Regions from separate parts of the Homo sapiens genome. Here region 2 is linked to region 1. The links are contacts of gene promoters, found by promoter capture Hi-C in blood cells and fetal thymus (Javierre and others, 2016). All regions are on one chromosome and are shown on one strand. Each heading gives the region's core, a stretch centred on a gene start or on the middle of the fragment in contact. The rest is flanking DNA. Distances are from core to core; before and after follow the strand shown. Region 1 holds the start of GRM5-AS1 (GRM5 antisense RNA 1). Region 2 overlaps CTSC (cathepsin C).

What was found. Contacts are between HindIII fragments. The CHiCAGO score rates a contact against its expected background, and 5 or more counts as called.
Region 2: a contact is called between a fragment that was not itself captured here and the fragment with the promoter of GRM5-AS1 in region 1, in 2 of 17 cell types (activated CD4 T cells and total CD8 T cells). The highest score is 6.0, in activated CD4 T cells.

Annotation. Positions count from the first base shown.
Region 1 is chr11:88,503,111-88,505,927 of GRCh38, forward strand. GRM5-AS1 (GRM5 antisense RNA 1) reads left to right here and starts at 1,466. Exons shown (of 6, transcript NR_049724.1): 1 at 1,466-2,817. GRM5 (glutamate metabotropic receptor 5) reads right to left here. Exons shown (of 10, transcript NM_001143831.3): 10 at 1,532-2,817. The HindIII fragment of the contact is 8,959 bases long and covers 313-2,817 here.
Region 2 is chr11:88,293,209-88,296,025 of GRCh38, forward strand. CTSC (cathepsin C) reads right to left here. Exons shown (of 7, transcript NM_001814.6): 7 at 384-1,300. The coding sequence ends at 798. Among named protein-coding and RNA genes, the nearest start is that of CTSC, 43 kb to the right of the region's middle. The HindIII fragment of the contact is 677 bases long and covers 1,230-1,906 here.

The DNA of each region.
Region 1 (2,817 bases), core at 216-2,715:
TGCCTATCTATGTGCTTACCTACCTTTCTGCCTAGCTATCATACAAAGTAAATATTTGCAAATTGTTTATGTTCTAAAACTGATCATTCATGTACAGCATAACCAAAAACTTGGCCAGCATTCAGCAGCAATTATAACAGAGGAAAAGCATTCTCTCTGTGGTGTTCAATATCAATTTACTAAGTTGTCCTTGATAGACAGTTCCAAGGTTGCATATGAGTTCAAACCTCAATAGGTTTCCTCCAGGATATATGCTTTAAGTTGGACAGGAACTTGTTAAGCTCCACAAATAACATTGATATAACAAATTTAAGCTTCCTGCTGAATATTAACTGTATACTAAATACTACATTGACACTAATAATAGCTACTATTGAGCATTTATCAGGAATGTTGAAATGATAGAAACTTCACAGATTATTGTAACTCACTTCTGCATTTAAAGCAAGAGGAACAAGTTGTAGAGAAATCAGAGTGATTTATCCAAAGTCAGTTGGTGACAGGTAAGAGATCCTGGCTTTTAATTCAATGCTATTTCTATTGCATCCGCTGGTTTTAAATGGCCTTCCATAATTTGATGGAGTCTGATAAGGCTCTTTGGATTTTTAGAAGGTAATTTCCTGTACCTGGTTTGTATATGTCACTTCATCCTCAATTTTATGTGAACATATTACCATTCATATCACGTTAGAATAAAAGATACTGAAGGGAAGAGTCTGACAAAACAGATAAAATGGCTTTCTTTGTTAAGATCAAACACATTCTGTATAATATATGTATCTACATATGTATATATATCATTATGCATTTAATACAATGTCAGAAGCATAAATCAAATATATTTTTAAATATACCTTGTTTTTCTCTTCCATACATCAAGCATCTACCTTATATTCTGCTGTTAGTTTTTCACTAATTTGTGTCCAGGGAATGTATATTTGCTCAAGAATCAGTCAAAGTAAAACTTTTTTTTTTTCTGGAAAAATTATGTAATATGCACATACATCTACACACAAACACACATATACACAGAGACACATGCAGATGGACTCAAAAGTCAAATGTCTATATAAATATGTATGTTTGTAAACACACATCTATACACACACAAATAATCTATTTTATCTGTGTGATGTTACCTCTATCAACACATATAATTATGAAACTATTTCTATAATTTGTATGTCTAGATGCATAAACAATGCATATTTCCTATATATTTTTTTAAGTACTTCTTTATGTAACAGTTGTTTGTAGATGTGTTTGGGGACAACATCTCTGGTTGGTTTGTGGTTGGTTTATATTTTCATTTAAATCTATACAGTCCACTGCTTACTTTGTAAACCCCATAATTCAAATGTATAGATCATCCAGTATTCAAGATTAATTAGTATCATGGCTCTTTTCATCTCAGAAAACACTATTAAGACAACATTCTAAACATTTGAGGGGAATAATCTTAAAATCATATTATAGGTTTTTTAATTTTTTTGAAAAGTAACTGGCTTCACAAACACCAAGTACAACATGATTTAGACAACTGAGAAACAGGCAAGTATATTTTGAAGTGCTAAAATAAAACATATTTATACAAGTACAAAGCAAAACAATGCTGATAAAAATGTTAAACTTTATGAAAAAAAATCATTTGCAGTTCACATCAAAATAATTTAACATTCTCTATTATTTTAATAGTACAAGCTGCCACAACAGAGAAAGAACAGATACACGCACACAATTTTAAAACCAAATCAGTTATAAGTGCAGAAAAAAGTAAGTACAAGCACTTTTAGCCCACACAAATCTTTTAGGATTGGCACCATCTTTCTAAAACATCTATAATCTATATAGATTTCTAATTACAACACCATCAGCAGCTGCCATTGATTTCTAGAAATACACACAATATACATAGTATATTTGTTCACATTGGGAAGATCAGTGAAATTCAACCAACTATTTTATACATGCCTCATTCTTCAATAGACAGTAGAGACTCTCCCAGGCCTCAGACCCTCTTCAAAGTGAATTCTGACTTGTCTTTATGCTTTCACTGATCTGTATTTTTTCACAGTATAAAATTGTAAATGGTAACTATAGAGATTCTGACAGCTTGAGGGTTATTAATAAGCTGTTGCTAAATGTGAACTCACATAATACCTTTGAAGTCTCCAAAACATGTACATTTTACTGGGAGACTAGCATAGGAAATGCTTTTGTTTTTTGTTATTCTTAAAAAGAGCATTTAATTCCTGGCTTGGAAGTCACAGAACTGCAGCAGAGCTATTATACAATTCATTTACAGTCAGAAATAGCTCCTAGTCTTCCTGATCACTTGCTGGTAACAGCAGTAGTTTGGGAAAGATAGTTACTTTCAAGGATTAGCACGTTTGGGGATTTGCTTTTTTTCCTTGCTTCAGTCAAATCTCTTATAATTTTTCTTTCCATACTCCCTTTCTGTTCCCCATCCCTAGCCCAGAAAGACGGTTCTTCCCAATCCAGATATGTTCTTCTTAGGCTGCCCCCACTCCTTTCCCAAAATGGAAGGATGAGTGGACTGCTTAGATTAGTCAGTATAACTTGGTTAAACCACGTCTTCTTCTTTCCATCCTGGGACATATCTCTCATTTAGGGTCACTTTGCTGAGCCTTAGCATATCCCCTTCCTTTTAGTCATGCTGGTCCCGACTGAATTATCACTGGGCACCAGGAACAGATTGTTTTGAAGGAAATTCAATGAGAATGTACCCAAATGAATTGTGAAGTTCATATCCTATAGCCCTAGAATGAATATTCAGTTCTCTTTGTACTGTAGAGT
Region 2 (2,817 bases), core at 318-2,817, 210 kb before region 1:
TGGGAGATTCCAAAAATCTATTTAAATCTAAGCTGCTAGTATTTCACTCATTAAGCTATTATTGCTCACCTACTGAAGACTAAGCAATACTCCCAAATACAAGATACACACCATAGAAAATAAATTCACCAATATCCAGATTTTGTCAAAACTCTTATTTCTTTTCTCTGAGGTCTCAGACTCATCAAACATCCAAGGATAATTTTAGGATTCACTAGGCATTATCTGAGTATATCTCCCTGTCATAAAGGTTCATAGTTTTGTTTTTAATTGAAATATCTTCAAATGCTTTTCCTTCTTAAATAAATGCTTACATAGGTAACATAAGTGAATCTTACTGAGTCAGTGATAAAAATTCCCTGAAGTAAACATAAACTCCATAATGCAGTTATTTTTAAAACTTTATTTTAAAAATATGAGCATCTATTTTAAAAGTTTTGATAATTATTGCCATTATTTTCTTGTGATTGGTACAATTTAAAAATAAGTCTATGTTTTCACATTGATTTTAAAAAATATAGCATGTTTGAATTACAAATGATTAAGCAAACTCTATTACTTCATAGCTGACCATCTTCCAGAAAATTCCCACTTAATTGAATACTTAGAAAAAAATGGCCAGTGGCCGATTGAAAGGTATATTAAAATTAAGGGCAGTTTTAATTCTGAAGACAAATATCTTCATGGAAATCTATTTGTAAGCTTCTGAGATTGCTGCTGAAAGTCTACAGTCTGTGAATATACCAATTCCCCTTTACAACTGATGCAGATCATTATGAAATACTGGAAGGCATACCCTACAATTTAGGAATTGGTGTGGCTGCCACTGCTATGCTCTCAATTGCACACTCATCAGTTCCTCTGCGGATCCGGAAGTAGCCATTCTCACCCCAGCCGGTGCCCCAGCTGTTTTTAACAATCCAGTAATCCATCCCAGAGGCTGAGTCAGTGCCATAGCCCACAAGCAGAACAGCATGATTAGTCAGCTCAAAGGGGTTGAAAGGGTCTCTTAGACCAGTGTGGTGGTAGATCCCCTTTTTGTAGTGGAGGAAGTCATCATATACTTCAAAAGCAACTGCCATGGGCCCATGATGGACCAACTCAAGCTTCATCAGGGCTTCATTGCAGCCTCCATAGAAACCTCCTACATAGTGGTACTCAGAGGAGTAATAACGAAAGCAGTCTTCCTTCATTTTGCATGGAGAATCAGTGCCTGTGTAGGGGAAGCAAGCTTCTTCCACCAGCCCAAAATCTTGGGCGTACTTTCCTGCAATAAGGTATGGGAAGCCGCCTTCACAGCCTGAAGATGAATAACACACATGGTTACCCCTTAGTAGAAAAAGGATTATCCCATTTTCTATTTTTTCTTCTTTGCTCCATTATTCTTTGCATGTTACCCCTGAAAGTTGTTCTTAGCTTAAGCATCACTTCATTCATCCATCCATTTTCCAACTAGCTAACTATCCTTTCATCCTCCTTCTACTTAACAGATATCTACTTAGCACCTAATATGGATGTAGCTATGGCAAAGTGGTTAAGTGGGGAGGCTCTGAAGCCTATATAGGTTTAAAGCCAAAGCCGTGTGAAGAGTTTAACTTCTCTGTATCTCTGCTTACTTACCTGTAAAATCTAGATGGTAGTAGTACTTTCCTCATAGGGTTAAATTAGTTACTTCATGTAAAAATAGCAAAAGTTAGGTATTATGGTCATTGCTAAGCAGCCAGACCCCACAACTTGGCTCTTTCTCAAGCAAGTCTTTTCCCTGACAACCTCTTGCCGAAATGTCTTTCCTACCTTCCTCATGCAGTCCTGGCCCTATTATATATATTATAACTCTGTACTTTTTCTTCACTGTTCTTCACTCTGTTGTTATAATTATTTAATCTCTATCTCTTACTTAACTGTAAGCTTCATGAGGATAAAGATTGTCTTGATATATTATAGCCCCTATAGCCTACAAGTCACAACTAGTAGTACATATTTTAGAAAGAATGAAAGGCTCACTGGCAAATAATCACTCATCAGCAGTTTCACTAGTGAGCTGGGAAATTCCTAGTGGCCAAATCTGGGCTTGAAAGCATAAACTTTAAAATGGTAACGTTTCTCCCTCAATCAATTATAGCTGTGTTTTCGACATACATCACATACAGCCTGATCTGAAAGCCTAAGTACAGATTTTTTTTTTTTCATAACAGGGCCTCACTCCGTTTGCCCAGGCTGGAGTGCAGTGGCATGATATCGGCTCACTGCAGCCTTGACCTCCTGGGCTCAGGTGATTCTTACACCTCCGCCTCCTGAATAGCTGGGACTACAAGCACACACCACCACGCCCAGCTAATTTTTTGTATTTTTAATAGAGAAGGGGTTTCGCCGTGTTGCCCAGGCTGGTCTCAAACTCTAGGACTCAAGAGATTCACCCATCTCAGCCTCCCAAAGTGATAGGGTTATAGGCATAAGCCACTGTGCCCAGCCCTAAGTACAGAATTTTAAAATTCTCCCAGAGAGAAACCAGTGTTAGTATAGTTTTAATAAAAGTTGGGTTTTGGAGACGATGATTAGAAGTGAAACTCCAATGCTAAAAGCTGTGAGACCTTCAAATTATTAGAAAAATTTCTTAGTTCCTGTTCCCCGCCCATAAATAGGGATTATACTTACTACTTCTCAGAGTTTTGAGCATTGTTAGGCAATATATGTAACAAGCAGAGCTCACTCAATATATAGTAACTATTGACATTTTGCTGGATGGTACAGTAAATTCCATGAGCAATCATCCATTAATAAGTGATAGGGCCAGACTTGCACTCAGATTTTCTGACT